Regions from separate parts of the Homo sapiens genome. Here all the other regions are linked to region 1. Evidence: promoter capture Hi-C in 16 types of primary human blood cells and fetal thymus (Javierre and others, 2016). All regions are on one chromosome and are shown on one strand. Each heading gives the region's core, a stretch centred on a gene start or on the middle of the fragment in contact. The rest is flanking DNA. Distances are from core to core; before and after follow the strand shown.

What was found. The method cuts DNA at HindIII sites, captures the fragments that hold promoters and counts their contacts. A CHiCAGO score of 5 or more calls a contact.
Region 2: a fragment that was not itself captured here is called in contact with the fragment with the promoter of SUMF1 in region 1 in 1 of 17 cell types (total CD8 T cells); the score reaches 5.1 in total CD8 T cells.
Region 3: a contact is called between a fragment that was not itself captured here and the fragment with the promoter of SUMF1 in region 1, in 1 of 17 cell types (neutrophils). The highest score is 6.6, in neutrophils.

Annotation. Positions count from the first base shown.
Region 1 is chr3:4,465,860-4,468,978 of GRCh38, reverse strand. SUMF1 (sulfatase modifying factor 1) reads left to right here and starts at 1,710. Exons shown (of 9, transcript NM_182760.4): 1 at 1,710-2,003. The coding sequence starts at 1,734. It overlaps LOC124909340 (a long non-coding RNA gene), which reads right to left and starts at 2,155. Exons shown (of 2, transcript XR_007095789.1): 1 at 1,471-2,155; 2 at 1-315. RefSeq lists an enhancer at 1,484-1,663 and a silencer at 1,834-2,013. The HindIII fragment of the contact is 8,038 bases long and covers 1-3,119 here.
Region 2 is chr3:5,182,080-5,185,198 of GRCh38, reverse strand. No RefSeq gene overlaps it. Among named protein-coding and RNA genes, the nearest start is that of EDEM1, 4.1 kb to the left of the region's middle. RefSeq lists an enhancer at 3,057-3,106. The HindIII fragment of the contact is 4,107 bases long and covers 1-3,119 here.
Region 3 is chr3:4,992,065-4,995,183 of GRCh38, reverse strand. No RefSeq gene overlaps it. Among named protein-coding and RNA genes, the nearest start is that of BHLHE40-AS1, 14 kb to the right of the region's middle. RefSeq lists enhancers at 1-153, 1-613. The HindIII fragment of the contact is 2,172 bases long and covers 581-2,752 here.

The DNA of each region.
Region 1 (3,119 bases), core at 461-2,960:
GCCTTTTTTTTTTTTTTGAGAGATGGTCTCACTTTGTCACCCAGGCTGGAGTGCAGTGGCACAATCATGGCTCACTGCAGCCTCTGCCTACCAGGCTCAAGTGATCCTCCTGCCTCAGCCTCCGAAGTAGCCAGGACCACCGGTGTGCGTCACCATGGCCAGTTAATTTTCTTAATTTTTTGTAGAGACAAGGTCTTGCTGTGTTGCCCAGGCTGGTCTCAAGCTCCTGGCCTCTAGCGATTCTCCTGCCTCGGCCTCCTAAAGTGCTGGGATTACAGGCTTGAGACACGGTGCCTGGCTGGTCTTTTCTTTATGCTAAAAAAATTCAAACAGATGCTACATTAGAATAGTGCAATAAACACCCAGATGCCCATCAACCAGCTATGACAGTTATCAACTCATGGCCAATCATGCTTCATCTTTAGCCAGACCCTGATTACCCATTTTTTGGGAAGCAAATCTTTGACTGCCTATATTTTTATCCATATATATATATGTGTGTGTGTGTGTGTGTGTGTGTGTATACCTCAGTGAGTGTGTGTGTACCTCAGTGAGGGGATTCTTTTAAAAAATATAGCCACAAATACCATTATTACTCCTAAAAGCCTAAAAACAAAATTTACAGCAATTCCTTAATTTTATCAAATATTATAATTTGACTTAGTGGTTAAATTTCCCTGATTATCTCAAAAATTTTGAACTCAGTAGGTTTGAATTAGTATTTAGATAAGGTTCACATATTGCAGCTGGCTGCTATGTTTTTTTTTTTTTTTTTTTTTTCAGATGGAGTCTTGCTCTGTCCCCAGGCTGGAGTGCGGTGGCGCCATCTCGGCTCACTGCAAGCTCCACCTCCCGGATTCATGCCATTCTCCTGCCTCAGCCTCCCGAGTAGCTGGGACTACAGGCGCGTGCCACCACGCCGGGCTAATTTTTTGTATTTTTTAGTAGAGATGGGGTTTCACCGTGTTAGCCAGGATGGTCTCGATCTCCTGACCTCGTGATCCACCCGCCTCGGCCTCCCAAAGTGCTGGGATTACAGGCTTGAGCCACCGCGCCCGGCCTGCTATGTTGTTTTTTAATCTGTAAGTTTCTCCTTCATCTTCTTTTTGTTTTGGTTTTGCATTTTGTTCGATTACGGAACTGTAGAACAGTGGTTCTTAAACTTAAGTGTGGATTAGAATCATCTGGAGAGCTTGTGAAACCCTGGATTGCTGTGTCCAGTCCCCACGGATTCTGATTCCGTATTGTATTTCTCTTTTTTTTTTGAGACGGAGTCTTGCTCTGTCGCCGAGGCTGGAGTGCAGTGGCGGGATCTGGGCTCACTGAAACCTCCGCCTCCCAGGTTCAAACGATTCTCCTGCCTTGGCCTCCCGACTAGCTGGGACTACAAGCGCGCCATTACTGGGTCTTTGTGAGGATTAAATGAGATTTTAAAAAGTGAAGTGCTTAGCATAGTACTCTGGCACTTACCAAATGCCCAGCAAATTTGACTGTTATTTTTCAACCAAGAAATCATAAAGGGGTGCACGGTCTGTGGAAGGCCTTGAGTTTTGTGGAGTTTTGTGTTTTGCTGCGTTTTGACGTTAGCACAGGCAAGCAGCAGCGCCAAAGAAGTACCTGAAGAAAGGTGAAGAGCAACTCTCCTGGTCACTTCGTAAGTCAGCTCAAAATTCTGCCCCTTTAAGGAGGGCTCAGCCACGTGACCAACCGGGTCACATGGCCCGCGGGACAACATGGCTGCGCCCGCACTAGGGCTGGTGTGTGGACGTTGCCCTGAGCTGGGTCTCGTCCTCTTGCTGCTGCTGCTCTCGCTGCTGTGTGGAGCGGCAGGGAGCCAGGAGGCCGGGACCGGTGCGGGCGCGGGGTCCCTTGCGGGTTCTTGCGGCTGCGGCACGCCCCAGCGGCCTGGCGCCCATGGCAGTTCGGCAGCCGCTCACCGATACTCGCGGGAGGCTAACGCTCCGGGCCCCGTACCCGGAGAGCGGCAACTCGCGCACTCAAAGGTGCTCCATCGATTCCTCCGAGGCGGGTGGGGGCTGCTCGGTTCCTGGACGGGGTTGGAGTAGGCAAAGCAAGGCACTAGTAGGAAGGGAAGTAAAGGTTATAACCACACCCCAAATCGAGCACCTGCTGTTCCCGTATGAGGAGTTCCTTCTCCGTGCCTCACCGGAAGACTCCATTTAATTGACCATTAGGGAGTTTGGTTTGAGGGTTATTGTTACTTCTTTACCCCCTATTTCTTTCTCCCTCCAACCTGTTCTCTTAATGAGGATCTCATAATTTTAAGGCAATCAAATTATGGTTTAAATCACCATTTCCTCTCTTATTAACGGAATAAATTAGGATCCTGGGTCTCAGTATCTTCACCAGGGTTGTTGTATACTTATCTGTAGTCTCCTCGAGTACACTCTGCTTGAGGACAAGGGCTTGAATTGTTTATCCTGCTATTCTTAGCACTTTAGCACTTAGGAAGGGCTAAGCAAACTGTAGTTGTTTTATTGCTATTATTTATCTGTCTTGCTTAGCGCCTGTATGTGTTAGGTGCCGGGATATATAAATAACTTACTGGCCGGGCGCGGTGGCTCACATGCCTGTAATCCCAGCACTTTGGGAGGCCGAAGCGCGCGGATCACGAGGTCAGGAGTTCGAGACCAGCCTGGCCAACATGGCGAAACCCCGTCTCTACTAAAAATACAAAAATTAGCCGGGCGTGGTGGCGGGCGCCTGTAATCCCAGCTACTCGGGAGGCTGAGGCAGGAGAATTGCTGGAACCCGGGAGGCGGAGGTTGCAGTGAGCCGAGATCTTGCCACTGCACTCCAGCCTGGGCGACAGGGCGAGACTCCGTCTCGAAAAAAAAAAAGAAAGAAAGAAATAACTGTTACTTCAATCTGTCTGCCCGGTATTTTGCATATTGATGTGTTGTCGAAACAACTTATGGGTCTAAAGGTCAGGTCTTCTGACTCCTAAACTAGTGCTCCTTCTTGTTTACTTAGCAGACACTATCCTTTTCCCATTCCATTTTTCTTTCCTTTGGGTTAATCCTGACCAATATTTAGGACTTAGGTGAGAGGTAACATCCACAGTAGGTTTTACCTGATCTCCTCTTTCTCTCCCCTTC
Region 2 (3,119 bases), core at 185-2,684, 720 kb before region 1:
GTGATGAGGACAATGTTTATCACAGTTGTGATTACATCATATATATATATAAAGTACTTACAACCGTGCTACATAGTGAGACCTATTAATACTTTTCAACTCTGAAACTTTTAAAACTAGCACCCGGCTGGGCGTGGTGGCTCACACCTGTAATCCCAGAACTTTGGGAGGCCAAGGCAGGCAGATCACTTAAGGTCCGGAGTTCAAGACCAACCTGGCCAAAATGATGAAACCCCATCTCTACTAAAAATACAACTACCCGGGCGTGGTGGTGGGCGTCTGTAATCCCAGATACTCAGGAGGCTGAGGCACGAGAATCACTTGAATCCAGGAGGCAGAGGTTGCAGTGAGCTGAGATAGCGCCACCACACTCCATTCTGGGCAAGAGAGTGAGACTGCGTCTCAAAAAAAAAAAAGTATTTCAAAAGCAGAGGTTTTGCAAAGCTGAAGGCCTAAAAAAAAGTATATAATTACAGTTCAAACTTATTTGATGGGCACAAATCCAAGTTTGTCAACATGCTCTGTTAGCAAGATACAGGATACTCGAGAGGCTGAGGCAGGAAGATCCCCTGAGCCAGTAGTTTGAAGCTGCGTTTCCTATGATCGTGGCTGTAAATAGCCAATGCAATTACCTGGGTAACAGTGAGACTTCATCTCTTTTTTAAAAAGGCATAGGGGACTGGGACTGGTAAAAACAAAAACTAGTACTTCCCGTGTGAAGGGTCATTTGGCAATTCCTAGTGTCAGAAAAAAATTACAACAAATTTACTTACAGATCTAACTGGCGTTTATTCATAACTTATGAATGGGGCAGCCTCCATTCTACAAAACAGAATGAAAGCTCCCAATGAGAAACAGCAGAATAGTGGGTTTTGTAAGATGAGAGCAAGGAAACAAAACAATGAAAAATAACTGATTGGTTAACATCGGGTTACTTTTTTTTTAAGGGTTAAAGAAGAAGGGACTTCCTTATTATTCTGATTCAGACAGACTGGGATTTTCTGTTTTCAGGAAAAACTGGTCTGTAAAGTTTCCATGTAACTGTGTGGCACTTAATATATGTAACTACTTTGGTCTGCTAGGACCTAGTGCAGAAACTCAGTCCACAAACAATGACCCCCCATAATTTTGGTTTAACGTTAGCACAAGTCGCCAGGCGCGGTGGCTCACGCCGGTAATCCCAGCACTTTGGGAGGCTGAGGCGGGTGGATCACTTGAGGTCAGAGTTCAAGACTAGCCTGGCCAACATGGTGAAACCCCATCTGCACTAAAACTACAAAAATCAGCTTGGCATAGTGGCACATGCCCGTAGTCCCAGCTACTTGGGAGGCTGAGGTAGGAGAATTGCTTGAACCCAGGAGGCGGACGTTGCAGTGAGTCGAGATTGCGCCACTGAACTCCAGCCTGATGACAGAGCAAGACTATCTCAAAAAGGAAGAAAAGATAGTGAGATTCCCTTCTAGCAGTTCTAACACCAAACCACTGAAACAAATATATGAACTATACATCAAAAATATTCATCATGCACATGCCCATACCATGCTCTAGCCTTTAGGTTACTGATGCTTCCAGAGAATATAGGAATTCTATAAATCCTTAACCCTTCTTTGAATGAGGGCTAGCGCTTATAAATTAGCTAATAGTATGACAAATAAGAGCAATTTGAATTTTTCTTACAGAATAAAATATACAAATGGAAGAGTTATCTAATTCACCTATTGGGTAGTAGATAGAAATGGTGAATTCTCTTAAGCCACAGAAACAAGCTAGCACATTGTGTGATACACATTGTACAACACTGAGGGTAAGTCACAATTGTAGATAAGAATTGGTTAAGGGAGATGCTATAATTAGCAAGTGGTTAATGTTCTACTTCCCAAGTCCAAAAGGGGATACAATGGTTTTGTTGGTCCTCCAGCCCCTTTACTTTTAAGAGTAGTATTTTCTAACCATTCCAGGTTTCTCCAAAGCTCTGGATAAATTCTAGCAGAACCTAGCTGGCCGGGCATGGTGGCTCATACCTGTAATCCCAGCACTCTGGGAAGCTGAGGTGGGCGGATCACAAGGTCAGGAGATCGAGACCATGGTGAAACCCCGTCCCTACTAAAAATATTAAAAAATTAGCCAGGCGTGGCGGCGGGCGCCTACAGTCCCAGCTACTCGGGAGGCTGAGGCAGGAGAATGGCGGGAACCCGAGAGGCGGAGCTTGCAGTGAGCTGAGATGGCGCCACTGCACTCCAGCCTGGGCAACAGAGTGAGACTCCATCTCAAAACAAACAAACAAAAAAACCCCCAAAAACCCAGCAACACAGCAGTTATAAAGGATTAAACCTTAGCTCTAAACCACCTACCCTCAAATTGGTAGTAGGTATATACACTTTTCTGGAGTGCATACCAAACATTTTCTGCAGTCTGGGGAAAATGTTCTAAAATTTGTAAATGCCTTTCAAAATATAAGCCGGTATATTTACAGAATTTCCTTCAAACAAAATAAATTTACTGTATCATTCTGTAAAATGTCTGCAATCTCCAGCTTTTGTGCTAAAATTTAAAGTTGTAACATGTAAATATTTCTGTATTTTTGAATTACCTTCTATTGAAGGAACATGTAATATTAACATATTCACTAGGCCAAATCGGTGTTTTTGTATCTCTTTTTAACCACCAAGCAAATTTCTAGGCTGCTAGAATCAGCCTGTCAGTGGCAGAAGTTATGGTTAGAAATCCTCTCCTGTTCATTTTATAGATGGGAAAACTTAAGGAGCCATGAGGGGGTTCTGCAACTCACCAGTCACACAGTCAGTTAATGGCCAAGGAAAGAACCCATTCTCCCAAATGCCAACCCAGTACTCTCCACAGAATTAAGCTATATTAGCATCGTAAGCTAACAACTCTTTTCCTACATCCCTACTGTAAGCCCCAGTAAAATGAAGCTAAAGTATCTTTTCCCCCTCCTGATTATTGGGAAATCTGCATTACCTAAATGCCAGATGCCTTGGGATTTCAAAATAGAATTATCTTACTGAAGAGAGGGCTGGTTAATAGAATGGAATAATAAATGACTACTGCTGTGGCTTAGATTTTTAAGAGAGTCCTATTGCAGTCTGTCTACCATGACA
Region 3 (3,119 bases), core at 417-2,916, 530 kb before region 1:
GTCACCACGTTTTTCCCCAGTGAAAGGCTGACTCATTGCAACAGGCCTGGGCTGGCTGGGACTTGAGCCGGTGGCTTGGAACATGCTGGGACAGTGAGCGCCTTGTCTGAAAGGCAGACTGTGAGAAGCCACGGGTCAGGGGAGCTGAGGCCACTGCCCTAAGAAACACCCCTCACACAGCCACGTGAGCCCCAGGGGAAGCAGGGGCCAGGTGGGTGTCCATGCTGCCTCCCACTCAGACTCTGGAGAGCTAGCGTCACCTTGCTGGATAAGGTCTAGAGAGGCTCTAAGCCCCAGGGCAATTAAGCCCTAAGGTCCTGAGACATGAGCATTTTGATCCTTCCTCCCCATACGAAGTGCAAACTGAAAACACAAAGCTTAAAATAAATTTAGAGAAACCCCAATAAGCCCTTGATTTTAATCATAAGATGATCTCCATGTTTTTCTTTGAAATATCAAAAAGAAATTATTTTCCAATTTTGGGGAGATGGAAGGAAGCTGGGGCTGCTTTCCCAGTGTTTTCAGCACACACTAGGTCTACCTAATGGGTAATTCAGCAGTGTGCACAGAGTGGGAAGCTTATCTCTGACCCTCTTCCCTCCTCATGCCTCTGTCCATTTTGACATCCTGGGCTCTTTCAGCAAGGACTTTTGAGTCATATGTTGAGTTAAATCCTGTCTGTGCCATCTGCTTGCTGTGTGACCTTGGGTGAGTCACTTAATCTCACTGAGTCTCAATTTCTGTAAATGTAAAAATGGAGATTGCACCAGATAATGTATGCATAGTGCCTAGTACAGTACTTAGCACACAGTCTGATATATATATATATATCAGAGAGATCTCATACACACAGACATATATATATGTGTGTGTGTATATATATGTGTGTGTGTGTGTGTGTGTGTATGAGATCTCTTTCAGCTTTTCCCTCTACAAAGCATCTTTCAGGAAATAATGTTATGTCAGTTACTTACACTTTAGAGTGAATATGTTCCTATAAATGTCATTCTTTCTTTTCATTTATTTTTTTATTTTCTTTTATTTTTAAATTAAATTAAAGTTTTATTTTGAGATGGGGCCTCACTCTGTCACCTTGGCTGGAGTACAGTGGCGTGGTCATGGCTCACTGCAGGCTAAGATCCTCCCACCTTAGCCTCCTGAGTAGCTGGGACTACAGGTCCGTATCACCATGACTGGCTAATGTTTTAATTTTTATTTGTAGAGACAGAGTTTTTGCTATGTTGCCCAGGCTCCTTTCATTCATTTAATCAGCAAATGCTTGAGCACCTACCACATACCTGACTGTAGCTAGATGCTGTATATTCTACATAAGGATTTCTTTTCATCCTCACGGCAATCTCTACAAGATCACTAATATCCCCATTTGATGGATAAGGAAACAGATTCAGGAAGGTGAAAGAACTTTCCCAAGGTCACACAGCAGAGTCTAGATTCACTTGTTCATTCAGGAAACACTGACTGAATTTCAGCTTTGTTTCAAGCTAGGCACTGGGAGCGCTGCAGTGAATGAGTTAGAGCCCCCATCCCAGGACCCTCACAGCCTATTGAGTGTCTTTGCACCTGTTTTGAAACTTTTGTCATCTCTCTAATTGTTAAGGTCCTTGTTAAAAGCTCCTATGTGCATGTGGGTAGGGAGAGCTTTCTCTAGATCTTCCACTCACCCTTTGAAGGGAGTTGCCTTCTTCCCAGGGTGTAGGGCTGGCCCTGCCCAGGGCTGAGCTGGCAAAACCAAAAAAGCATCCTGCCTCTCCTTTCCACATCATCCCCTGGGACTGCTGGATACAGATGTCCATGACAACCTTGAACTCCATTCTTGTCCCCCACTCCACTTATTCTGTTGCACTTCATGATCTATATTACAGAAATACCATGTTCATTGTAAAATAAAAAAAAAAGAAAATATAGAAAAGCAAAAATTCTTAAAGGAACAATAACCAATAATTCTAAATCCTGCTAAGGTGGTTAAAATTTTATTGTATTGCCTGCCAGACCTTTTTCCTCTGTAACTATAATACAATTACTAAAAAATAATAACAATAACACTAATTTTAGCTAACCCTGACATGGAGCTTTCTCTGTGCTAGACACTGTTCTAAGCATCTTAGACATTGAAACTCATTTAATCCTCACAACTCAGTAGGCCAATTACTATTGTCCTCATTTTACAGTTGTTCAAAGTGAGGCAGAGAGAACATTTAGAAGCACACATATTATTCTTTTTCAAAAATGGGATAAGTCTGAACATACTATTTTGTGGCCTACTTTTCCTCCCTTTACAACAAATAAACAATAATCAATTTACTTTCCTAACATAATTTTTCATGACTATTTAGCATTCCAGCACTTGCACATACTGTAAGTTACTCAACCAGTCTCCTTCTCAGCCATCTTTCTGATTTCCTTATTCTCTCCTTCCCTCTGTCCCTCCCTTCTTTCCTCCTTGTTTGTTTTACCTATGAATGGCACAGGACGTCCAATCTTGTAGCTTAGTCTTTGAAAACCTGTTTAATAACTTCTTGGCTGTGCATGGTGGCTCGGGCCTATAATCCCAGCACTTTGGGAGGCCAAGACAAGAGGATTGCTTGAGGTCAGGAGCTGGAGACCAGCCTGGTCAACATAGCAAAACCCTGTCTCTATTTTTTATTTAAAAATTAATTAATTTTAAAAATCGTATTTAGGATAACTCCTAGAAGTGGAATCATTTGGTCTCAAGATATACATATTCTAAGCTTTCCGACATCTCTTGCAAATGCCTCCAAGACAGGCAACAACGTTGGGTTCTAAAGGAGTATGACCTGTGTCCCACGGAATGATACCCATCAGAATGACAGATGCTCATGACATTGACCCAGCAATTCCATGTGGGAGTTTACCCCATAAATACTGTTATACGCTTGCAAAATGACCTGTGTATAAAATTACTCATTGCAACCCTGCTGGTGATAGCAAAAGATAAAAAATAATCCAGATGTTCATAATAGGGAACTAGTCAAGTAAATTATAGGACATCTATACAATGAGATACGCACAGTTGTGAAAAAGAATTAAAAGCCTTTCTATGTATTCACGTGGACAGCTCCTCAAGACATACTAAGTGC